4 separate regions of the Homo sapiens genome follow, and all the other regions are linked to region 1. The links are contacts of gene promoters, found by promoter capture Hi-C in human tissues and cell types (Jung and others, 2019). All regions are on one chromosome and are shown on one strand. The core of a region is centred on a gene start or on the middle of the fragment in contact, and the rest is flanking DNA. Distances in the headings are between cores, read along the strand shown.

Region 1 (6,336 bases), core at 1,827-4,326:
AATGCATCCCCAAGCCCAGTATATGTAATTCCGGGAGGCTCACCCAGCAGGCGATCTGATGGAGAGAAAATTAGATTTCCTGTCTCCACCAATACGTCCCCTAAAGGGGAAAAAAAACCTGAAGCTTATAGGGTGAGAGCCACTGAGTCCTAGCAACTGGGTCCCCAACACTGCTTGCCTTTAGAAGTTTGGCTCTTTCTGTTCTAAGTCTATTGGTGGTCAGTAAGACTGATAGCCACACCCCAGAGGACACTGAGAAACAGTAGTGCTGTCAGAAGGAGAGAGACCCTAGGGTGGCTTGTCCAGCTGGGGGCTGAGCAGAAGAAAAGCAAAGGAGCCAGTATCACGCAGCGACAAGGTGCCCTTTAGCAGCAGGAGTGGGCTCAAAGAAATGAGTGGTTTAGGTCACCTGGTGAAAATAACGAGGCTGACCAAAGGAAACACTAATTATAATCAGGTCAGCTGGACTCCGTTAGTGAAAAGAGATCTATGCAGCCTCCTGACCTCTATTCGGATGGTTATTCGCTACTTTTGCAATGATTAGCAATTGTATGCCAAGCACCTTCACAGGGGGTAAACATCTTTCTCACTAAATACTAGTTTATGTTAAAAACTACAAACACCAGATGAATTGGAAGTTTAACAGAATTAACGAGCATGTCACAAAATTAAGTTTTATCCAGTCCAAATCCTTCCTGCAACAATTATGTTCCGGGAGGGGCAGGGAGCTTGCAGTTATCAAATAAAACTGGCTAAATAACAAAACACAATTCTCCCCGTGTCACTGCCTCAAATTTACTCTGCTGTTGCAAGATGTCATGATAAAGGTGATGGCAATCTATATAAAACATTGTTATTGGAATAGCCTTTGAAAGTTGAAATGTGACTTAGTCTTTACGTGTGTCCCGTGGTCCCTGAGGCCGGGCTGGACGCCTGGAGCTTTGGCGCCCCCTAGCCATTCGGCACTGAACAAGTTTCTCCAACTGCAATGCGAGGGAAAAAAGAAGAGAACCAAGAATAAAACAAATTTTTTAATCCTTTCCAAAAAGACATTGTTTCTGATCTTCCCCTGTCCACTCTCCAGATGATAAAGCTGAATAAAAAGTGCTACACTAACCAGTGGTCAGTCCAGGCTCTGCTGCAACATTGCACTAACCAGAACTGCAGACCTGGGACCTCAAGAATTGCATTTGATGCCGAACCCAGCTCTAATTTCAGAGTCAAGGTCTCTGCGAGTATTTAAGGAACGGATGTAAACCTGGGGGATTCGTTTTGTTTCCTTCAATTTTCCAATGAAATCAGAGATCCTGTTCTTGGGTGTCAACGCAGATACTAGAAGGAGGTGATACAAGAGAAAGGAAACAGCAAGCGACGATTATGGCACGGTTTCCTGTAAACAAGGTTGAGTGTAGCCACAGCCTGAGCACTGTGGGAGAAGAGCTCATAAGAAAATGACGGTGCTGGGCCTTCGTCACCCCGGGGCACTCCATTGTTCTTGTCTTTGGTCTCTTTTTATTTGTAGAGGTCCAATTATTTATTTATTTAGTACAAGAGGGAACGAAATTGATCTTTCCATTCTAAAAGGAGAGTATATATGTATAAAAGGAAGCTGTATAGATATGGGGGAAGAGGTGGACAGGGGGAAAAGGGGAGAGGACGAGAGAGAGAAAGGGAGGGAGAGGGACAAGGAGAGACACTGGGCGAGAGATCGATTAGGAGAGACAGAAATGATGAATGAAGATTAACTTCACCCAAGGCTTCGTGCTGGAGGGGAATGGAGGAGCTCCTGATTTGCTATTACTACTCCAAACTGCAAAGGGCTCCTTCAAGTCACCTATCCACCTCCTAAGGCAAGCGTCCAATTTCAACAGCGTTCAGGAAAGTCTCCTCCCGCGGAGGTCTCACCGCTTCCCACTCCACCCCCACAAACTCTTTGGAAAAGTGCCTTGAAAAATTTAATCCTCAATCCAATCCTGGACCACCAGCGTCCTCTGTTGGTCACCGAAGGGAGGGGGTGCGCAGACAAAACTGAAGAAACTCGAGTGCCAGAGAAGGCCGACAGGAGTTACAGCGACCTCAGCGCGCAATTGCGCCCCCGAACTTTACTGAAAAGTGTTTAGATTGCAGAGATAAGCTAGAATCCCAACGCATCGAGAATACAGTAATACGAAGTCGCCTTCAAAAAATGACAATGAAAATTGCCTATTAAAGGACTATTTGGTTAATTACGTTTCAGCAGTGCCCAGTTTATTGTCTTTATTATTCTTTTGTCATGGGTGTAAACTCCATTTGAAAACATAATCAGGGAGAATACCCAAGACAAGAAGAACAGTTGTCATTTAAAATATTTGAAAAGCCCTGCCTTAAGGACGCATTCGCTTGCCGGTCCACTCTTAATTGGAGACTTGCGGTGTAGCAACACGTGAGAGTCTTCTTGCGTTGAGAAGTAAGCCTGGAAAGGGGCGAAGGCCCCGGGCGCATCTTCAGATGCGTATTTGTGGGCCCCTGGGGATATAAACAGCCCAGCGGGTGTAAATTAAACCCCGCAGTGCCTTGGCTCCCTGAGACCCAAATGTAAGTCAGAAATGTCCCAAGACTTCGCCTGCCAACGGAATTAAATTTTAGAAAGCTCCACGAGGTACACACGAATGCGGAGCGCTGTATGCCAGTTTCCCCGACACCGGCTCGCCGCAGGGAGACCTCACCCCGAGAGCGGAAGGGGTAAGGGCGGCGGGGTCAAGGAGATCGGGGGTGCTGAGTTGGCCAGGAGTGACTGGGGTGACCGGGGGTGCTGAGGTGGCCTGGAGTGCCGGGGTGGCCGGGCACACCTTGGTTCTTGTAGACGACAAGGTGACCCGGGCTCCGGGCGTGCGCACGAGGAGCAGGTGCCCGGGCGAGTCTCGAGCTGCACGCCCCCGAGCTCGGCCCCGGCTGCTCAGGGCGAAGCACGGGCCCCCGCAGCCGTGCCTGCGCCGACCCGCCCCCCTCCCAACCCCCACTCCTGGGCGCGCCGTTCCGGGGCGTGTCCTGGGCCACCCCGGCTTCTATATAGCGGCCGGCGCGCCCGGGCCGCCCAGATGCGAGCACTGCGGCTGGGCGCTGAGGATCAGCCGCTTCCTGCCTGGATTCCACAGCTTCGCGCCGTGTACTGTCGCCCCATCCCTGCGCGCCCAGCCTGCCAAGCAGCGTGCCCCGGTTGCAGGCGTCATGCAGCGGGCGCGACCCACGCTCTGGGCCGCTGCGCTGACTCTGCTGGTGCTGCTCCGCGGGCCGCCGGTGGCGCGGGCTGGCGCGAGCTCGGCGGGCTTGGGTCCCGTGGTGCGCTGCGAGCCGTGCGACGCGCGTGCACTGGCCCAGTGCGCGCCTCCGCCCGCCGTGTGCGCGGAGCTGGTGCGCGAGCCGGGCTGCGGCTGCTGCCTGACGTGCGCACTGAGCGAGGGCCAGCCGTGCGGCATCTACACCGAGCGCTGTGGCTCCGGCCTTCGCTGCCAGCCGTCGCCCGACGAGGCGCGACCGCTGCAGGCGCTGCTGGACGGCCGCGGGCTCTGCGTCAACGCTAGTGCCGTCAGCCGCCTGCGCGCCTACCTGCTGCCAGCGCCGCCAGCTCCAGGTGAGCCGCCCGCGCCAGGTGCGCTGCGTGCAGCACCCGGCGCACTGGCGCCGAAGGGCCTGGGGGTTGCTGGGTGCCGCTGCGGGAGACTCCGCTTTTCTTCTCACTGGAGATAATATGTGGGGAAACTGAAGGCGCTCCGGGAAAGGTGAAGGCGGTCGCCGGAGGGACCCTCCCCAGCCGGCCCTCTACTTGCTCGATTCTCTAAGTGCAGAGTACTTGTAAATTGCAAAGCGCTTTCAGTGAAAATGGGTTAAAGGTTTCCGGAGCTGAGGGGAGCGGTACCGATGTTTAGCTGTTGGAAAGATCCTGGACACAGGAGATTCTCCTCGCCCCGCACGGGGGTGCACACGGACTGCAATCCCAGGGATGCTTGGGGATGGGGGGGATATAGGCGGATTTGGACCAAGGAAGGTGGGCAGGCACGTTGTAGGAAATAGTACCTCTCTTTTAAAATACTGACTTTGCACAGCCTTTTGGTTTGCAAAGCAATGTCTAGTCCCGGTATGTCCAAAAACAAGTAAAGTGGATTCGGGTTTTGATATCTTCTGCGGTTGGAAAACCTGAAGCTGAAAAAGAAGTAACTTCTTAAGGTTACCCAGCGGCCACAACAGAGTGTAGGTTTGAACTCCGCGTGCCACTTTCAGTACCATACCATTCTTACAACTCGGGCCACCCCTGCACCTGCGCCGACCTCAAACAAACTTCCAGGTGCGTGGTGGGTGCGGGCAATGTGGACTAAGTCAATTTCAATGACACGGAAGGGAATTGGAATCAGTCCTAGGGCTGTCTCCCTTCTTAATCTGAAATGGGGGGGGGAATGAGATGTTGTTAAGGGGAGCCCCAGAAGAGGAAAAATGCAAACATTTGGCAGAGTTACCCTCTTGGCTTAGCCACTATCAGTATCAGGCAGACAGCGACTCTGGTAAGGGCATCACATTGTTCCCTTAAAAAAAGGAGCGGGGGTTGTTTAAATGGATTTGGCAGCTGTTCTTTCAAGCATTCTTAGCCAGCCTCACCTAGTTATATGAGAAATAAAGTTCCTGCCTTGCACAGCTGAAGGCTGGGAGAATTCTCCCCATCCTAATTCCCCCAACTCCCCAACGATCACGTTGGACAGATGTCACTGGGCAGGCCCCCATCTAGGGCTAGCAGGATGAACAGTCCCTTTATAATTTATGTAGCTGTAGAGTTCCACGCCCGGGTGAAGTTATTTTCTGGCTCGGCAAGGCTGGCTCTGTTCACCCCTGAGAAATGCTGGATTCATGGAAAGGCAAGATGCCTGAAACATACACTGGCTCTGGTCAGCTGTTAAAGCTGCTGGAGGCATTTGTCTCTCGGGGCAAAGTTATGTCATTTGCCAAGTGTCGTACATTATTGTGCATTTTGGGGTATTCAAAAAGTGATCTTAGAAATACTGATACACATCGTCATTCTTGGGCTTTAGCAATCATCATGATTACCACCTTAGTAGCACTGTAGTATAGGTTGATGTGAGTTATAAGATTATAAAAAGATCTAAGTGACTTCTAGAATCTATTTGACAAAAAAAGGTAAATTTTCGACAGTCAAAAGTCACAATTATCTGTTGCTTAAATAGAACTGTTTTGTCTTCATGCCCTAGTCTGCAGCCCAGGCATTAAGAAGAAACCAAGGAAATTTAAGAAATTACTCAAGGTTCTTAGAAAAGAAGTATAAATACGTTTATTTACATGTTCTTAGAGTATTTACATTCTTAGTATCTCTTTTATCTCAGTATTTCCTTGAAAAAGAAAGCAAGCTAAGATTAAAAGAAATTGAAACCAAATCCTCGCAGGTAGGGACCTCCTCTGTGAGGCTCTGTGCTGGACCCTGGGAATGTGTGCTTCCCAAGGTATGAAACCCCTTGGGGAACTTTACAGCAGGACCTCAGTGAGCTGTTTGGCAGGTGAGGAAACTAAGACCCAGAGAGGAGAGGGACTTTCCTAAGGCCCTGGTGAGTGACCTGCCAGTAGCCACTTCCAGGGGAGAGCAGAGCATCTGCAGCCAAATCATTGCAGCCCCAGGTAGCTTTCTAGAATAGACTGTGGACCAGATGGGCCACCTGAGCTCCCTGCTAGGGTTACACATTATAGCCCTGTTTGTTGTAGTAGAGAAATTTCATGACTCTCAATTGTGGACTTAAGCCGATGCCTCCAGACCTTGGCATGGTCCACAGGCCCTGGGAGCATGGGCTCTGAATGTAGCCTTTGATCCCCATAGCGGTCTTACAGCCCCTCCAAGTTCATTCTGAAGAAGGAATGGAGTGAGAATCCTGGCTGCAGATCCAGTCTTGAATTTAGTCATATACTTAAAATTCCAATTCAACTGTTAACATTCCAGCATCCATTTTAAGCATCAGACTTTCTTCATTTAGCACTTTTTATTATAAAAGGGAGATCTGCTGGAGGGGGATTTCTCCTACCCCACCCCCACCCAGGGAAGGAAAAGCTCTTTGGCACTTAGAAGTCTGAGCCGTGAGTGGGACTTTGGCATTGTCTGCATCCATGTGCTGCTGTGTTCACCCGGGGTGAAAAGGACTCACTTAGGCAGGCACCAGCAAGATGCACAGGGTCTGTGTAGACCTTGAGTTTTAGAGATGTAACGGGGACCTAGAAAACAAGCCACCAACATGCTTGCATGATTCTGAGCCCCTGAGGCAAAACGCTTTGCAGGTAATAATTCAGTTTTCCCATCTGAGCTGGACA
Region 2 (6,858 bases), core at 409-2,908, 560 kb before region 1:
TAAATGAGTTAAACTTTTGTGACCCTGAAAACTAGTTTTCTGCATGTTGAATCTGTTGAGAGCACAGCTGAGACCCATCTTCTACCATCTCTGTTGACATTTTTATCAGGTAAGAGGTCACTATGGTAATTATAGAAGAGAAAAATATAAACAAGTGCATATTTATTGTATTTCAGATTTTATCTTCTGTGTCTTCTATCCTCATAGGATGCAACTATCTTTCACACTGATAAGAGTGGCCTTCCTCCATGTTCACTCTGTCAAATGCCTTGTCACTTCATGTTGGATGATAATGTCTATGTCCATGTGAATGAAAGATTCAGACAGGCACAGATTTCAAACTCTCAGCAATTAAGAACAAATAAATTTTGTAAGTAAGAAATCGAAATTTTTTAAAAGCTTAACATTTGTTTCACTTATTTAGAAAATATGATTTTAAGCATTTACACCCTTTTTTTAAACATTAAAAATTGCGATGAGACACACCAATGTATGAGCCTGTTTATCACGTGGCCACATAAACTCAGGAATGGAGGAAATGTGATTGATGTAAATTTATAGTAAGTGGTTAGTGACTCAGGTGGTAGGTTGATAAAAAACTACTCAGAAAAGGCAGAATGGACCTCAGGCTAACAAGGCTGGATTGTATATGTTTAAATATCTTTAAAGATAATGCATTGGCCAAAGAGTCAGGGAATTGCCATGAACACAGAGAAAAGACAGTAGTTGTGGCAGAGGCAGATAAGACAATTGACCCATGGACAGCAATTGCTACTTTGCAAAAACCACAGCTGTACTGCCCTGACCACGCTTTTTAGATTACCTGCTCTCATTTTTTTCTGATCCTGTATCTCATAAAGCCTTGCTTTTGCCAGTTTTCCAAATATGGGAAAAAAATGCCTGGTCAAACCACTGTGCATTCCAACCTGCAGGAGGATTTTTGTTTATCTTTGTGAATTAGTAACACTGGCATTGCTGTTGAGTTCATTTATTCATCCAAGTATTTCCTTAGAAAGGAGCTTCCTGGGTTTCTGAGATAGTGAGCTCCCTGGTAGGGGAGAAAGATAGCATGCAGGTGTTACTATGACTTACTTTGGAAAGCGACCCAGTGGGACACAGCCCAGGGCAATGATCTACCTGTCAAGGAGGAGGTAGTGGCACCAACTGCACTTTGGAGAAAATGACACCCTTGAGCTGGTTCTAAAATGACAAATACAGTTTGGCCAGCTTTGTGTTTTTGTTTTATTTTGCCTTAAAGGAGTAATAGGAAAGGACTTTGAGGCAGAGAAGGGGACAGAAAAGCAACCCTCTAAGTAGAGTGCCCCATGCGGGGGGTGGTGTTGGGAGAGGAAGTGTTTCCACTAGTAGCCTTCGAGTTGTGATGTGGAAACTTCCACCTGCAGTGCCCAGGGCAGGGCAGAGAAGTCAGGCTTCAGGGAACACTAGGCTCTATTCCACAGGCAGATGTCAGGAAGGAGGAAGTGAAGAGTCAGCAGAGCACTTCACTTGCTGGTAGCAGGTGGAATATGGATCGAGAGACAGCCAATGGATTGAGAGGTGGAACATGGATTGGTTGAAACAAACAATAGAAATATTGTGTGATCCACAAAGGCAATTTTAAAATTCTTTAATAGCCACAAGAAACAAGTGAAATAAATGTGATAATGTAATTTATTTAACACAATACATTCAAACTTTTGTCATTTAAAATGTCATCAGTACACAAATTTATTAATGATAGTTTACACTTACTCTTCTTGTACTTGGTGTTTGAAACCTTGCATGTATTTTACACATAAAGCATATTTTTATTTACAGATGCTAAACTCATCACAATTACTCGATCTGTGTTTAGATTTCATTAAATTTAAAGTTGAAGAGTACATTCACATGCCGGAGTTTTTCAGAGATTCTGAAAGGGTTTTTTTCTCTCTCTTTTGTTTTTTTGTTTTTCTGTTTTGAGATAGAGTCTGGCTCTGTTGCCCATGCTGGAGTGAGGCAGTGTGATCTTGGCTCACTGCAACTGCCACCTCCTGGGCTCAAGTCATCCTTCCACCTCAGCCTCCCGAGTAGCTGTGACCACAGGCACATGCCACCATGCCCAGGTAATTTTCTGTGTTTTTGATTGAGACAGGGTTTCACTATGTTGCCCAGGCTGGTCTCAAACTCCTGAGCTCAAGCAATCCAACTGCCTCGGCTTCCCAAACTGCTGGGATTACAGGCATGAGCCACCATGCTCAACCAGAGATTCTTAAGTTTTCTAACAACTGAATTCAGTATCTATATTTTCTTGATTTAATGCAATTAAATACTACTAAAACTTCAGATAACTGGTTACACCAGTCACATTTCAAGTGCTCAGTAGCAACATATGGCCATTGGCTAGTGTATTGGACAACTCAGGGATAGAGCAAAGAGACTTGGAGGATAGGATCCATTTGGAAGATTTATGTTGTAGTCACAGAAATTATGACAACAGTTTAAGCAAGGTTAATCATAGAAGAATGAATATGAGATGGAATATTGGAGAACTATTAGAAGGCATAATGGACAAACTTAGTAAGAGAGAAAGGGAGTAGTCAGGCAAGTCCCCAGGGAGCTGGTGTGAGGGAGTGAGCAAATGGTGTTCTCCCAGGAAGACTGTGTGTGCAGGAGAACACAGGAGTTGAGAGAGAAAGAACGACTTCTACTTTGGACAAAGCAATTCCAAGGAGCCCATGGTACTCTGAAGCAGACTGACCACACACAAATAGCCCTGGAGGATTAGTTATTTGAAGAGGGTTGGAAAGTAGTTATTGAACTTTGAGAGCTATCGGCAGGTGGTAGTCAAAACCCGCCAGGCTCTATGAGGTCTTTGTTGAAGTGAGTCCATCTCTGAGGTGCACATCTGCTTCAGCGCACAGAGAAAATTAGAGTTTGAGCCTGAAGGGTCCTGGCACAGATTGTGGCCTAGGTTAATTTGACTTAAGTACTGCCTGCTGCTGACATCTTGGTAGGCAATTTGCTAGTGTCTTCGGGAAACTCCTAGATTCATAACTTTGTTCCATATTTGTCTTCCAGATTTTGCAGGTGTCATCTGCTTGTCATCAAAGGCTTATATGCAAATATATTTAAGAAACGTTTTCCTTTCTTTACTGATCCCTAATAGATAGTAGTTATGTGTCTGGTAGGTTACATGCAAATTAAACACATATGAACGGGAGAATTCAAATACACTGAGGAAAGCTCTAGATACTAGATGTGGTGTTATTTTTGTAAATGTAAAAGCAGTCACAAATTGTACAAGTTACCACTAATTAGTACAGAAATTTAATGAAATTTTTTTTAGTACAGCAAATAGGAAAACTCAGTTTTAAGTTTGCATTTTATAATATTACAATCATTAAATATGAACTCAATTCAAATTGGAGAAATTTAAGCTTTAGAATGAAAAGATTTATTTCTACTTTTATGGAAGAAAGTAGAATTCTTTCATCATTACTGTACTTTTTAAAAATTATTTATTATACTTTAAGTTCTGGGGTACATGTGCAGAATGTGCAGTTTTGTTACATAGGTAAACATGTGCCATGGTGGTTTGCTGCACCCATCAACCCATCAACTGCATTAGGTATTTCTCCTAATGCTATGCCTCCCCTAGCCCCCACCCCACAACAAGCCCTGGTGTGTGATGTTCCCCTCCCTGTGTCCATGTGTTCTCATTGTTCAACTCCCACTTATGAGTGAGAATATGCTGTGCTTGGTTTTCTGTTCTTCTGAAAGTTTGCTGAGAATGATGGTTTTTAGCTTCATCCATGTCCCTGCAAAGGACATGAACTCATCCTTTTTTATGCCTGCATAATATTACATGGTGAATATGTGCCACATTTTCGTTATCCAGTCTATAATTGATGGACATTTGGGTTGGTTCCAAGTATTTGCTATTGTGAATAGTGCCACAATAGACATACATGTGCATGTGTCTTTATAATAGAATGATTTATAATCCTTTGGATATATACCCAGTAATGGGATTGCTGGTTAAATGGTATTTCTGGTTCTAGATCCTTGAGGAATTGCCACACTGTCTTCCACAATGGTTGAACTAATTTACACTCCCACCAACAGTGTAAAAGCGTTCCTATTTCTCCACATCCTCTAGAGCATCTGTTGTCTCCTGACTTTCTAATGATTGCCATTCTAACTGGCATGAGATGGCATCTCGTTGTGGTTTTGATTTGCATTTCTCTAACGACCAGTGATGATGAGCATTTTTTCATATGTCTGTTGGCTGCATAAATGTCTTCTTTATATGCAGAAAACTGAAACTAGACCCATTCCTCACACCTTATACAAAAATCAAGTCAAGATGGATTAAAGACTTAAATGTAAGGCCTAAAATCATAAAAATCCTAGAAGAAAACCTGGGTAATGCCATTGAAGACATAGACATAGGCAAAGACTTCATGTCTAAAACATCAAAAGCAATGGCAACAAAAACCAAAATTGACAAATGGGATCTAATTAAACTAAAGAGCTTCTGCACAGTAAAAGAAACTATCATCAGAGTGAATAGGCAACTTGCAGAATGGGAGAAGATTTTTGCAATCTATCCATCTGACAAAGGGCTAATATCCAGAATTTACAAAGAACTTAAACAAATTTACAAGAAGAAAACAAACAACCCCATCAAAAAGTGGGCAAAGGATATGAATGAATACTGTACTACTGTTAATAAGAATCATATATAATAATTCACAAACATTTCAGGGCTGGTTAGAGTAGCCTTTCCTTTATGAGTTCATCTTCTTTAAAGGACAGAAATGGCAGTGGATTGCAAGTCTCCAGTAGGAGACAGCCCAGGTGTTCACAATGGGGGCACTATCGATGACACAATGACCCAAATCAAACAAGTGAAACATCACAGAGGCAGGAAAGTTCTGCCCCAAACCCTGCAAGAACAGGGACTTAGAAAAGCTTAGACATTCATAGGAATAAGACCTCCAGCTATTTATGGGTTGATTACAAGCTCAGTATGATTCAATTGATGATTAGATAGTAGACATCACCTGTTACGATTGGAGCCCTGTGGCCAAGAGGACGCCTGTGAACTATTTCACCTGATTAGGCCACGCTGGGATTTTTTGCTTGGGTGAGAGGTCGTGCTTCCCCAGGACACGGGCAGCAGCCTGGAGAGAGGAGTCTCAGAGGGTAACCCTGCTCTTCTCAAATATGGAAAGCTCCTATGTGGAAGGGCAGTGAGTGGGATTTATCTTTTTCTGGGGATTCCAGATGGCAGAAAAGTAAGTTACAAATGAGCAGTGGTTAAGGGTTTGAACTGAGAAAGAGGAGCACATGTACTTCCCAATTCTTCCCACAAAAACTTTTGGGCGTTACACATAATGCCTCTCTGCCTGCCAGTGTCTCTTATGAACCAACATAAAAAGACACTGGCAGGGAGAGAGAAGGCAGCCCAGGAAGGGACCTTCAGACCCAAGGCCTGATGTGGTGGTGAGTGCCCTGGTTTTTTCTTTTTGCATCACATGTTACAGACTTGGATCTCAACAAGTGAGCAATGAGGAAAGGCCAACAGGCACAGACAAAATGAATAAATAAATGCAATCCCCCAAGAAAAAGCTCGCTGTGTCTAGCCAAAGCACCAGGAAAGGGGCAGCCTAGCAACACAGGAAACTTTTAGACAATAATGTCCCCACTCCAGCCAAATACCAGGGAAAAACTGTGGCCCCACCTCCACCCAGGCCAGGAAAAGCCAGGCAGGGACCCCAGACTTCCACCCTCACTGGCCAGAACAATAGGCTGCAGGGAAGTGTCCCAACCCCAACCTGCAGCTGAGGAGGTGTTAGGGAACGCAGAATAGGGACATGAGACTCATATCCTCACCTAGTGGATGCCACCCCTCTTCCCCAGTGTAACAGAAACCACACACATGTGGGGCAGATGTGGGGCAGGGCTTCCACCACTACTAGGCTGTCCTCCTGCTCCACCAGAGACATGTCAGAACTTTCACCCCTGCCCAGCAGTAAGGAGGCCAAGACCCCTTGCCGGGTGTCTGTGAAGGCCTCTGGGGAAGCACTAAAAGGCAGAACCTCTTCTCCTGCCCAGGTAATAGCAGAGGCCTCATGGATTTTACGACCCCCCCCCTCCACCCAGAAAAACTAGGAGTCTCTCCCCACACTCAGTGTAAATAGACCCAGGTGGAGAATCTTGACTTCTACCCCATCTGGCGAGGTAGAGGCAGTGGGCCACTTCCTCAGCTGAAGTGTCAGAGGAAGCCACTAAAACAGGCACAGAATTCAATAAAATCCATAGTTTTAGAACATAATGCCCCAAATGCTCAGATTTTAATAGAAACTCAAACATAATACTAATAACCAGAATATGTTGGATAAAGTTTCCAAGAAAATTCCTTTTGTTCAGTGATATGTGAAGCAAAGGGGGAACTGGCTTCTTGAAGTTACATTGTGAAAAACCCTCACAGGGTTTGGGGTTCATATAAAATGTAGATTGGGACATCCCTTATGACTTGCGATAGTGCTGTAAGAAATAGCTTTTCTATAGTTGGACTGGGATATGTTACTTCTAATTGGATGGTTATGGTGACCCTGGTATTAACTTTGGCTAAATTATCTAATGATGATGGTAGTACTTCGGCCAATGGCGATTCCAAAGTCCAAATGTAGCAAGAGGTTAAGTTGGTTACTGAGGCTAAGTGTCGCATTTAAATAAATAAATTTAACATTTACAGTTTTCTGCCTTTTAAAACATATTTCATATTACATGTGGCTAATCAATTAAATAATTAATGGAAAATGGCCATGTAAATTGTATCCAGTTAGGCCCACACTGCTGAGCGGGATT
Region 3 (6,965 bases), core at 2,994-5,493, 530 kb before region 1:
TTATTATTATTACTGCTACTACGACTAGTCTAGGAGTTTCTAATGGTCCTAAAGGAAACCAAAACTATTTAACCCCAAAATATACTTCTTTGACATATTTTGAGATGGCTGTTCAGAGGTCCTGCAGATAAAAGTAGCCTTGCAAAGCTGTCTTTTGTGGGGGAAATTTCCTCAGTAGAGGAAATAAAGTGAAATAAACAATGGATGCAAGTAGGCTTTCTCTGGAGGCCCCTGTGTCTGGATCTAGAAAAGATTAACTGAGAGTCTGATACCCTTAATGGTCTGATGAAAACCATTACCACTGATTACCATCTACTCTCTCTGAGGGCTGCTACCTGGGGTTTCATCTGCGTGAAGTTTCCAACTGCTTTTGCCCTACACTTTTCCTTTATTCCCTTTCCCATAACCTGTCTTGCCCTATTCCAAGCCCCTCTTCTTTCTGTAACCTCAGGATGGATGAAACTTGTACCATCTGGTCCTTTCTTTGAGTTTTCTTATTTTTTATGACTTCCATTTACACATGTGCATGTAATATATTTGCATGCCATTTTTCCTATTAATTTGTCTATTATCAGTTTGTTTTATATATTCAAATTATCCAGACTTCAACGGGAAAATTTAAACTTTCCTACAGTCCCAACACACTTCTGTGAGCACTTTTAAAGCTCCTGGGATGAAACTACCTTTGCCAAAATTAGAACAGTGAGAAAATTATGACAGTGAAAGAGATCTGATCTAGCAAAACTGTCTTGCCTTTAACCTCTTAACTACCCTTAATCATTCCTGGGTTTAGGCCAAGATAACTTTGGGAGACATTTAGTTTATAGTTTAAATAATAATAATAGTCCTTCCCCAAAACTAAACTGACTTTGTAAAGCTAGTGAAAAACCATCAGGTTAGATGGATGAGAAGCCTGAATTCTGCCAAGGTATAGACTTAAAAACAATTACCAGCCATTATTCCGGATGTCACAAGATATGAAATTTCACTAATTACTCCTGCAGATAACATCATTATTATGGAACTGAAGATTAGCCTTTGAGATGTCTTTTCAGGTTTTTGCATTTCTAATGATGATGGCTCCACCTGGACCCACCAGCCATCCTGTGGCCCCACCCAGAAGAGAACCACTATCCACACCCCCATTCCCTTGCCCGCCAAACTATTCTGGAAAAACCCTAGCCCCCAAGTTTTGGGGGAGTTGATTTGAGTAATAACTTTGTCTTCCAGGTGGCATGGCTGGCCTCATGTCAATTAAACTCTTTATCGAAGTGCTGTGGTCTTAGTCAATTGGAGTTGTTTGTGCAACAGGCAGTAAGAACTCGTGGGGTGTTTACAGGGAGAGTACCAATTAACACAATAGTTACAATGAACACTCAAGATGTGAGATATAATAATAAATATTTTATTTGTGCTTCTCTGCCTTCCCCTGCGAGTCACCATTGTGAGTCTCTTTATGTCTTTGAATTTTCTGTTTTTCTACTTTTTACTGTATTTTTCTTGATTTATAAAGATAATACATGCTCTTTAAACAAAACTCAAATATTATATAACTAAGAAAAATAAATGTTTCAATAATTTTATCTTTTAAGTTAATGATATTGATGCAAATTATTTCACATTTTTCTTTTACATACTTCTCCCATTAAGAATTAGCTATTTTATTATTATTAGCTCCTTTATATTAAATAATGGAATCACTGAATATCTAGAAATCAACAAATCCTTTCTAGATACCATGGTTAAGCATAGCTTGGCTTGGTAAGCAAAACACATATTCTGAATACTTAAAACCAAAATCTTTGGGATGTTTTTTCTCTTGGCTCATGTGCAATTCCATAACACTGACGCATAACATTCCATTAAGTTAGATGCCAGTGGGAAAGTCTCACGTGACTATGCTGCATGTTCAGTCTCTAGACACACTCTGTCCATGTCTGCAGCTGAGCCTTTCCCTTAAGCATTTTTCTGACCCTGGACACATCTGGACTCCTGCCGTGGTGTGAGCACCTCACAGGCCCTGCCCTTGTTCAGTCTGTGTCTGTTTCTCTAACTCCAGGCACAGTGCCTGGGCTAAACTGAATAGATTCTCAAGAATTCTTGTGAAGCACAGTAATAGGTACATTTTACAAGGAAAACCAAGAAGAAATGCAGGTTGATATATATCATAAGCCAAAATTCGGGTGTGCAGATTGGATCCAAGAAGTGTGTGAGTCAAATGGACTACGACAACTGGCTTCACTCCAGCAGCTTGATTAGAGCCCTGGGCAAAGAAGTGTCTGGTACTCTCTGCCACACCACACACCTTGGCATGCTTAGGTTCCAGGGCACCGTGGGTAATCCTTGGCACTATTTTTTTTTTTTGAGATGGAGTCTCGCTCTGTCGCCCAGGCTGGAGTGGAGTGGTGCAATCTCAGCTCACTGCAAGCTCTGCCTCCCGGGTTCATGCCATTATCCTGCCTCAGCCTCCAGAGTAGCTGGGACTACAGGCGCTGGCCACCACGCCGGGCTAATTTTTTGTGTTTTTAGTAGAGATGGGTTTCACCGTGTTAGCCCTTGGCACTATTTTTATATGGTACAGCCATAAAATGGAATGAGTTTGTAAAAGTGAGACCCTATGATGAAGAGTTTGTGACTGTCAAAGCTGTGGACAATGTTAGGGTTAAAGGGAGAGCGCATTCGCTATTTTCCAGTATCTAAATAGAGGTCATGTAGAATTGAAGACCACTCTCATTTGGACTGACTTCAAAAGATAAATTTATAAGATGTGACAAAATAAGATTTAGTGTATTATGAGGAATGTTCTATATGATTCTTCAGGTGCACCCTGTCCAGTTGAATCCCAGTTGCCTGGAGGGATGACCCACTGATTAGTAGCCTTTACAGCTTTCCTTCCTCCCATGCCTCACCTCCCTATTCTCTCTCTTGTGCTTCTTGGGGAATCACCTCCAAACGGAACCTCTTGCACTTAAGATCTTGCTTCAGGATCTACTTTTAGGTAGAATCTAAACTAAGACATCTATTCCTGCAGGTGTGGGGCTAGGTTATGGAGTATATCCTAGTCCTCACTGTTGAAGAGCACGGTCTGTTTGGAGCAGATGGACATTACAATGAAAAAGGACTGTGAGAGGGATTCCATAAGGTCATAAGACACATGAAGCAGGTGGTAATCAATTCCACTCAGGATGCTGAAAGAAGACTTACAGAAGTGTCCCCTTGAGAGGGAACTTGAAGAATAAGCAGAAACTGACCAGGCTCATAATAGATTAGCAGTGTTTCTGGCACAGAAAATGCCATGTGCACAGAGAAGGAGGCTGCAAGCAACCACAAGACAATCAGGAGTGACTCCAGGAAGACTGAACAGCAGCCTGGGAAGCCACGGGAAAACAGAAGGAGACGGAACTGCAGAGCTTGAGCTTGCCAGGAGCAGAATGTAGAAAGCCAAGCTCTGGGCTGTGAGAATTTGGCTGCTATAGTATAAGCAGTGGGGGGACTTTAGAAGATTGAAATTAATAATAATAAAACAAATACAAAGAGAGTAACATAATCAACTGCCATTTTAGAGAGCGAGAACTTTATTTGCAATGTGAAGAACATGAATTGTCAGTAGGGAGTTCAGAGAATAATGTATTAAAATTATACCCCTCAGAAATTATTAGTGTCTTGTCCAGGATAGGGACTGTAGAAGGCAGAGAAGAAAGAAGGGTTATGAAGAATGTATTGGAGATACAATCAACACCACGTAGGATGGATTGAAGGAGTGTATGTATAAGTGCATGCACATCTGTGAATGGTGATGCATTGATAAGAACTATTAAGGCAGACACTTAGATTTTGCTCTTGGGTGATTGGAGCAGTTAGGAGATGTGACTAAGTAAATATGTAGCAGATGAGATAACTCTCCAATCATCTGTTGACTCTGAGCTGGAAATGTCCGGGAGACAGTTGGGAACATCTCCGCGGCCCAAGGGAGAAGTCCAATCTGTGCACATGGATTTCTTCATCCTCTGTACAAAGAATAACCCTAGAAGAATAGAAGAGAAAAAAAATGCCAACTCTGAAGAACATTAATTAAAACAAATTTCAGATTTTATGGTAATGACTCCATGGTTTTCTATTACATGACTATTAACCAGCCCTTAGGAAATGGACGTTTGTTGTCAAGTATTTCAATTATATAAAGAACATAGAGTTCATTATAGATTCTGGATATTAGACCTTTGTCAGATGAGTAGATTGCAAAAATTTTCTCCCATTCTGTAACAAATTTACAAGAAAAAACAAACAACCCCATCAAAAAGTGGGCAAAGGATATGAACAGACACTTCTCAAAAGAAGACATTTATGCAGCCAAAAGACACATGAAAAAAATGCTCATCACCACTGGCCATCAGAGAAATGCAAATCGAAACCACAATGAGATACCGTCTCACACCAGTTAGAATGGCGATCATTAAAAAGTCAGGAAACAACAGGTGCTGGAGAGGATGTGGAGAAATAGGAACACTTTGACACTGCTGGTGGGACTGTAAACTAGTTCAACCATTGTGGAAGTCACTGTGGTGATTCCTCAGGGATCTAGAACTGGAAATACCATTTGACCCAGCCATCCCATTACTGGGTATATACCCAAAGGATTATAAAACATGCTGCTATAAAGACACATGCACACATATGTTTATTGCGGCACTATTCACAATAGCAAAGACTTGGAACCAAGCCAAATGTCCAACAATGATAGACTGGATTAAGAAAATGTGGCACATATACACCATGGAATACTATGCAGCCATAAAAAATGATGAGTTCATGTCCTTTGTAGGGACATGGATGAAGCTGGAAACCATCATTCTCAGCAAACTATCACAAGGATAAAAAACCAAACACCACATGTTCTCACTCATAGGTGGGAATTAAACAATGAGAACACATGGACACAGGAAGGAGAACATCACACACCGGGGCCTGTTGTGGGGTGTGGGGAGGGGGGACAGATAGCATTAGGAGATATACCTAACTTTAAATGACGAGTTAATGGGTGCAGCACACCAACATGGCACATGTATACATATGTAACTAACCTGCACATTGTGCACATGTACCCTAAAACTTAAAGTATAATTTAAAAAAAACACAGAAATTAATATACTTGTATATATGTCTTTTCCAACTTGTAAAATTAGCTTATTGAGGTAAATTTATAAAATAGAGCTGTACATGTTAAATTCTTATATGTAGAGTAGTATCAGTCAGGATTTTCCAGAGAAACAGGAACAGGATATATATATTTTTTCAGTGAGAAAGAGGTTTTTTTTTTTTTTTTTTTTTTGGAGAGAGGGAGATTTAAGGAGTTGGCTCATAGGATTGTGGCAATCCAAAACCTCACAAGTCTGAAATTTGTAAGGCAGGCCAACAAACTTGGAACTCAGGCAGAAATTGATACTGGAGTCTTGAAGCAGAATTTCTTCTTCCCCAGGAAACCTCAGTTTTTGTTCCTAAGATCTTCAAATGATTGGATGAGGTCCATTCACATTATAGAGGGTAATCTCCTTCACTTAACGTCAACTGATTGTGGATGCTAACCACATCTATAAAATGCCTTCACAGCAACCCCTAGATTGGTGTAGGATTAAACAGTTGTCTACTGTAGTCTAGCCAAGTTGACACATGAGACTAACCATTACAAGTGCCAACATGCTCACTATAAATTTCTACCAATTTTACACCCCCACTATTACTATTGTTTGTGTATTTCTGCAAAACTTCAAAACTAAGATTGTCTTTTGAAGTTTTAATCTTGCCAATTTGATATGTCTTCATGTTTTTGTTTTATCTGGTTGCATTTTATACTTATTGCCAACTTTAACTCTTCTTTTGTAAGATGCCTTATCTCATGCTTTCTTGCGGTATTTTTATGCCTTTTTCTTGCCCATTTACATTTTTGAATCATATAAACGTAAAGATATAATGAGAGGAATAAAGATCCAGCTTTTTGCCCTAAACATCTAGCCAATTGTTCTAATGATTATTCTGTAATCCATCCTTGCTTTGTTGTTTATTATAAGGCAACTTCCTCATATACTCTGTGACTTGTTTTTTTTCTTCAATCGGTTTGGACATAGCAATAATTTTATCAGCATCATATCCCATGAAACAGATGTCATAATTCATGTGAGTATTTTTCCATAATAAAGCTTAAGATTTAACTTCTGTAAATTTTATATATAATGATATCCTTTCTTAAACATTTTTAAAATTTAAAATTTAAATTTTTAGAAATTATAATCTTGTTATAGTATAGTCTTGGTATGTTGCCCAGGCTGGCCTCAAACTAGTTGGCTCAAAAATCCTCCCATCTCAGTTTTCCAAGTAGATGGAACTAAAGATGCATCTCACCACAGTAAATAGTAATATTCCAAAAAGATTATTTTATATAACTTTTTCTTAATCATTTAAATTAGGGCAGTAGTGAGTACATGTGTTCAGATTTATATAGCAACACTAAAATTTCCTTAAGTCATGATAGTTTCTTATGGGTGAACATAGTGTGCACTTGGGGAATTTCAGAGCATTGCAATCGCTACCAATTGTTACAATACCTCCTTACTCCCTGCCCTGCTGTGGCTAAATTCACTTTAACAGGGTCAGAAATGTCTGATACTGCAGTGGCCAAGTTGTAGCCATTTGTCACATATGTAATGAAAATCCTACACATATCCCCTGTCAATGCTCCCTGATAATGTAAGAGTTTCCTATATTCTTTCATTGTCATTTCACATTAATTTACCTGGGAAGTCTTTCTGAGCTCTGACTTCACCATGTTGCTGCTCTGGAACCTCTCATGGCTCTCTATTGCTCACCTAATAAAGAAGTCCCTAGCGGCTCTTTAGGTTATCCATCTACCTTCCCAAACTTATTTTCCACTATTTATTTCCCTTCCTATATTCTTGCTCCAATCAAACTGG
Region 4 (6,638 bases), core at 3,990-6,489, 620 kb before region 1:
CATATCCGCCTTTTCCATTATAGTCCTTGAGCCTGGAGGGATTAAATAGTTTTGAATTCTGAAGGTAAAATACAACATAAAGAATCAGCAATGTAAACAGAAAGGTCATAATCCCTGCCTAGTCTTAGAAATGACAGGAAAGGGGAGGCTGAGGCAGGAGAATGGCGTGAACCCAGGAGGCGGAGCTTGCAGTGAGCAGAGATCACACCACTGCACTCCAGCCTGGGCAACAGAGTGAGACTCGGTCTCAAAAAAAAAAAGAAATGACAGGAAAGGAAGCTCACAGGTAGCTAAACATATAAATTACTTAGTATCAAGGCACAGAATAAATTATATTTATTCAAATAGAGGCAAAATTATGAAATGAGTCTTAATGTTTTTGAACAGAGTCCTGTCCCTGTGTCCTCATGAAAGCAGTTTACTTTGATTGTCACCTTTGCTTGGGTCTAAGACAAGGTTTGGTTAACTTGAGTTTGGCGTCAGATAATGGCAGGAGTTGGTGCCTTCTTTAGATGAGATATGTGTACCCAGCAGTCAAAGCCTGTAACTCAACAGCACAAGATTAGTTAATAGTCCCTGATAAGGATCTTTACAAGAGGCTGAAGGTGGTGATACTGGAGTCCATGACTTGACTGCAAGCTGTAAAAAGATTCTACAACCTTGCAGTGATTAGCTTTTATAGCTTTAATAAGTCCCCAGTAAATAAGGCTAGGTCAAATACTTAATTTAGAATTTTGATTTTGAGGACATTTGTCAAAGATGTTAAAAGTCTCAAAACATTTGATCAAAATAGAATCACAGGTCATTGCAAAATAAGTTACTCATTTCACCAAAGTGATAAAAGACTTTAAAGGCAATACAGAAGGTTACATGGATGTGAAAATTTTAATCCTCTTAAATCTTGGTTTTTCTAAGTAATCAAAAATCAAATAAAGACAACATAGCAATTATCTTGATAAAATATAAAATCTTGGTTTTTTTCTTTGTTTTTATTTTTTTTAGTCAGTTACCAAAAAGGTAAAGAAAAATCTTCTGCAGTGTGGTTGTTTTTCCTTGTGAGAAGTCCATTTAGGTAACCTGGTAGTCAAACCTGCTAAAAGAAGTACTTGGATTTAATCAAACACAGGGAGAGTGTGTTCAAGTTTATGAGTAAAGCAAAGAAATATATGACTCTTAGTAATTCCATGAGAAGCCTCTTAATTATATTGAACAATTTAGACATGAGATGCTGGGGTGAGCAGATTGCTTGGGCTCAGGAGTTCGAAACCACCCCAGAAAACATGGCAAAACCTCATCTCTATAAAAAAAAAATACAAAAATCAGCGAGGCGTGGTGGCATGCACCTGCAGTCCCAGTTACTTGGGAGGCTGAGGTAGGAGGATCACTTGAGCCTGTGAGGTAGAGGTTACAGTAAGTTGAGATCATGCCACTGCACTCCAGCCTGGATGAGAGAGTGAGACTGTCTCAAAAATAAAAAAGAAAAAGAAAAATTTAGACATACTAAGAAAAGCCAAGAGTACAGAATTAAGTTATACTGCAGGAAAATATTGCTTTTCTGGACACTTTAAGATAAAACATTTTATTATCAGACCACAAAACAGTAAAAACTAAAGGAAAATAAATTACAGAAGCTGAAGAAAAAGTTGAAGGACAGAGTTACTATCTCAGCCCTTCTCAAGGAGAGAAAAAGCTGAAAGCAGCAAAGGAACTTCTGAGATATGAATCTGAAAGGTTTTAAAAAGAGACAGTCTATAGAATTAAAAAGCAAAACCTCTTGTAATTTTATTAAGAGCAACTTAATTCCTTAAGAAAACTTTGTTTTAATACAAGGGACCAATCTTCAGAAAGACTATTGTATAGATAGATAGATAGAGCAATCAACAGATAGATCAATAGATAAATTTTAAAATTATAGCCAAGTTAATTTTAGAAATGTTTTTCATAAATAACTTTTTAAGTCGATAGTTTTAATTTATCTTCAGATAACTTTTGAATTAGACAAACTTATTTTAAATAAGAACATAATGCATAAAATTTTTATAATTAATTTTGTATTAAAACATGTTTTTTGTTAACCATTTTTAAAGCCTGGGAACATCAGATGTTCACCAAAGTAGAATCTTAAAGTTAAACACATGAGCGTTTTGCTAATCACTCAGAACATGTAGCTGTTTTTCTTAATAATATTAAATTAGCTTTATTTTTGTCATGGGTTTGTAGCTATGAGCTTTTTAATCATCCAAGATATGGCCTCACAAGCTCTTAGGTGGAATAGAAATTGAGCCACCCATTCTCAGGGTAGAGAACAGAAGAGCACAAACACAGAGAGATCAAAGCAAACAAAGGAAGTCCTCTCAAGCAAATTCCTATAGAGGGAGACTGGAAAGTTAATAAATTGTAATTCAAAGCAATGGGTACCACAAACGAACTATGTTAGGTCCAAATGGCACAAAGCTCAAAAGGCAGACAGGATTTCTGGTAAGCACACCAGTTCAGCTTCTGCAGTTCTGAGGCCTGTCGGCTTCCCAATCCCCATTTTCTTCACACCAGTGCAGTGTTGAAGGCAGCTGATACCACAGTGGGGAGACAAGGGGACTCCCTCAGAAAAAGAGTTCTCGGCAGCTGTTGGGTCATTCCTAGAATCCCAGCCATCAGGTCAGCTGGCCAGGAGCAGCAATCATGAGCAGTTTTTGCTTTGCCCAACAGCATGAACAGGTAAGCCTTGGCATGCTGCCGCATCCAAATGCTCCTTCTGTTGGATACTGGGCAGGCTAGATAGCCTGAGGCATGTAGCCCCATGCTGGGCACCTGGCTATTGTAAGCAAACTCAGGATTGGCTGCTCACTGCTTGAAAAGCCACATACAGGACAACCAAAGCTGGGTGGAAGCAAAGCAGCTTTATTCAAGTGCTAGCCACTTAGAAGACGGCCAGAATCAAGTCTCAAAAAGCTATCTTGAATTCTCAGGTGGGCTAAAGGAGCCTTAAAGGGAAAGGTAGCACGGAAACAATGTGCAGGAATGGTGTGAAGTGTAGGTTTGCTTGTCATTTTTTGATGATAGACTTGAGTAATGGACCATCCAGAGACCTGGTTGGTTTTATCTCACTAGGGATCCAGTTATGGATGAATTGTGCATTGATTTCTTTTGCAAAGGGAGAAAATTGCTATCAACATCTCTGCTTCATGCCTGGATTTTTCCAAGATTAGCCTTTAGAATTCTCAAGCAAACAGGTAGTTAGATATATGTGCGGCAAGAAATAAAGTGAGAGAGGTGATACATTTGGAGTACGCTGGCAAACTGGCTATGCCAGTTACATAAGTGGTTATTAAATGAATGAAGGCATGAATGAATGAAGTTACCCAACATTTAGGCTTCTCCTACATTAAAATAAAATATATATATATATATATATATATATTATATGTATATATTTTATTTTAATCCTACATTAAAATAAAATATATATATATATATATTATATGTATATATTTTATTTTAATTAGAGAGCTTTGAAATCCTTTTTTTTTAGCGTAAACACATAGACAATATATTTAGGCTTGATTTCTTTCTAGAATAAAAACTATCATCGATTTCCTAAAATATGGCAAAATGCTAATTGAAAAATAGTCCCAACATTATTTCCTATTTAAAATTACTTAAATATCTTAAATATTTTAATCACTTACTTAGCTATTCCATTTTCCTTATGTAAATTTGAAATAGCTTTGAATAAAAACATACTACAATTTTTAGACAATTATACATAAGTAAAGGTAAAATGGGATAAAATGTAACTAGTGGCTACTAATTTTTGAATGAACATTAGTACATGGCATTATTGTTGCAACTTCACATTTTCAAAGAATTCCACAAGGTAGACATTTTGCTGCCAATTTATACCCCAGAAAATTAAGGCTTGCCAGGCTTCGCAACTGTACACCAATTACAAGTGGCAAACTGCTATAGGGTAGTGTCCTGCCCTTTCTACCACAGGCACCCTCTCCCCACATCATGAGGAAGAATCAGCAACACACATGAGATGCAGACCACAAAATTTCACTGAGCTTCAATGCAGACAGGAAAAAGAGGGGAAAAAAACGCTTATTATATAGTATTTCCCCAAGAATGTTTTATAGAACTCTAAACCTGAAAAGTTGTTTTGTATTTCAAAAGAAAGAGTTTTCTTGGCTAAAAAAAGTTGTCCTCAGAGCCTGCATTTTCCAGAACTTCACAACGTACATCAGAGTGCTAAAGGCTTGGTGCTGCTTTCCAGTTACATCACAATTAACTGTATTTATCCAGGTTTTCCCAAATGTATTTAACCACAGCGCCTTTTGAAAAACAAAACAAGGGGCGGGCGTGGTGGCTCATGTCTGTAACCCCAGCACTTTGAAAGGCCGAGGTGGGTGGATCATGAGGTCAGGAGTTCGAGACCAGCCTGGCCAACATGGTGAAGCCCCATCTCTACTAAAGATACAAAAAATTAGCTGGGTATGGTGGCAGGTGCCTGTAATCCCAGCTACTCTGGAGGCTGAGGCAGGAGAATTGCTTGAATCCGGGAGGCGAAGGTTACAGTGAGCCGAGATCACGCCATTGCACTCCAGCCTGGGTGACAGGGCGAGACTCTGTCTCAAAAAACAAAACAAAACATCTTAAATCTCTCACAGAACTAAAAATAAATTAAGCAAATTTAATTAAATGCTGGCCAAGTAGGAGGTGTCACACCAGGTCACTAGTAGAAAAAACTTTTCCTGGCAATGAGTTCTGGGTGGATTTTGAATGGTTCCATAAATAAAGTGCATTAGATAATGTATATAGTAGAAATTTTATTTAAAAGAATGCAAAAATATGCTGCGACATATTGTTAAATCTACATGTCATAAATTCTTAAATCATAACTCAGTGGAGACAGGTTTAAGAGGACCAAAGTAGCATTAGTCAGATCTATAGTTTTGGAGTATACTGACTTTTAAATTCCATTTGTCAATTAGAGAACAATATTTTCTTCCCAGACTACAGAGCATGATATACTTGGCATATGTGAATTTCCATTCAAATGGAGCCTGCCGGGCATCTGCTGATTCACTTTGGTTTAATGATACCCCATTGGTTCAAGGGGGAAAATGTTTATGGAAATATTCCCTTCTTACCATCTTTCATCAAAGTTCACTGGGCTCCAGAACAAGCTGCCATCCAAAGACTTCTAAAACAGAAAAGTATCATGTGTGGTTTGTACTCGTTTCAGAGACGTGATGATGGCATTCTCTTTGAAGTACATATGAAGTTGTCAATTAGCTGGAGATGAGTTTTGCAGAACATGTTTCTGGATTATCCAGTCCAAAAACATCTTCAAAAATATTTTAGTTATTTTGATGGATTCAAAATACTTCCAGTATCTTTTCTAATTCCACACCAGTTTTCTGACTCAGCCCTTCCACTTGGTAGAAGAGAATGTAGTGAAAACTGAAGCATGTTTGAATGCTGTGAGTTTCTAATTTCGAAAATAGCTATTCCCCTGCAGAGATCTCCTTCACATTTCCCACAAGGAAGTTTGAGACTCTGGCTTGGCACAGCACACCACTGTGCATGAACGTCCTGAAATGGCATGTGCCTGAGATTCTGTTAATCTACCATATCCATACAGATGGGTGTTGTTGAACTGTCTTGGTGAGAGACAGGACTAGCTGGATTTCCTAGGTCGACTAAGAATCCCCAAGCCTCGCGGGGAAGATGACCGCTTCCACCTTTAAACACAGGGCTTGCAATTTAGCTCACACCTGACCAATCAGATGGTAGAGAGAGCTCACTAAAATGCTAATTAGGCAAAAACAGGAGGTAAAGAAATAGCCAATCATCTATCGCCTGAGAACACAGCAGGAGGGACAATACAATGATCGGGATATAAACCCAGGCACTGGAGCCAGCAACGGCTACCCTCTTTGGGTCCCCTCCCTTTGTATAGGAGTTCTGTCTTCACTCTGTTAAATCTTGCAACTGCACTCTCTTCTGGTCCATGTTTGTTACGGCTCGAGCTGAGCTTTCACTCGCCATCCACCACTGCTGTTTGCTGCCGCCACAGACCCGCCGCTGACTTCCCTCCCTTTGGCAGGGTGTCCTCTCTGCTCCTGATCCAGCGAGGTGCCCATTGCCGCTCCTGATCGGGCTAAAGGCTTGCCAATGTTCCTGCGCTGCTAAGTGCTGCGTTCGTCCTAATCGAGCTGAACAGTAGTCACTGGGTTCCACGGTTCTCTTCCATGACCCACGGCTTCTAACAGAGCTATAACACTCACCCCGTGGCCCAAGATTCCATTCCTTGGAATCTGTGAGGCCAAGAACCCCAGGTCAGAGAACACGAGGCTTGCCACCATCTTGGAAGCGGCCCAACACCATCTTGGGAGCTCTGGGAGCAAGGATACCCAGTAACGTTGGGATATATCTAGGCGTTGTTCAACATAGAGCACAAGTGCTGAAACTCCCCCTTTAGCTGGAGCTGAGCAGGTTCTGCACAAATTATTTTTGGTACAAGTGAAAGAGTGAAGGTCAGTTATTGGGTTATATTAGTTTGTCCTCACATTGCTATAAAGAAATACCTGGATCTGGGTAATTTACAAAGAGAAGAGGCTTAACTGGCTCACAGT

Evidence for each region. Contacts are between HindIII fragments. The study calls those that stand out against the background at their distance.
Region 2: a contact is called between a fragment that was not itself captured here and the fragment with the promoter of IGFBP3 in region 1, in 1 of the 25 tissues and cell types used here (heart right ventricle).
Region 3: a fragment that was not itself captured here is called in contact with the fragment with the promoter of IGFBP3 in region 1 in 1 of the 25 tissues and cell types used here (mesenchymal stem cells).
Region 4: a fragment that was not itself captured here is called in contact with the fragment with the promoter of IGFBP3 in region 1 in 1 of the 25 tissues and cell types used here (IMR-90 fibroblasts).

What each region holds. Positions count from the first base shown.
Region 1 is chr7:45,918,012-45,924,347 of GRCh38, reverse strand. IGFBP3 (insulin like growth factor binding protein 3) reads left to right here and starts at 3,076. Exons shown (of 5, transcript NM_000598.5): 1 at 3,076-3,610. The coding sequence starts at 3,208. RefSeq lists enhancers at 2,112-2,692, 2,693-3,273. The HindIII fragment of the contact is 8,943 bases long and covers 1-6,336 here.
Region 2 is chr7:46,479,670-46,486,527 of GRCh38, reverse strand. It overlaps LOC105375266 (a long non-coding RNA gene), which reads left to right and starts at 4,950. Exons shown (of 4, transcript NR_187896.1): 1 at 4,950-5,282; 2 at 6,833-6,858. The HindIII fragment of the contact is 5,060 bases long and covers 1-4,188 here.
Region 3 is chr7:46,451,402-46,458,366 of GRCh38, reverse strand. No RefSeq gene overlaps it. Among named protein-coding and RNA genes, the nearest start is that of IGFBP3, 530 kb to the right of the region's middle. The HindIII fragment of the contact is 7,921 bases long and covers 283-6,965 here.
Region 4 is chr7:46,536,216-46,542,853 of GRCh38, reverse strand. No RefSeq gene overlaps it. Among named protein-coding and RNA genes, the nearest start is that of IGFBP3, 620 kb to the right of the region's middle. RefSeq lists an enhancer at 5,616-6,115. The HindIII fragment of the contact is 6,696 bases long and covers 1,892-6,638 here.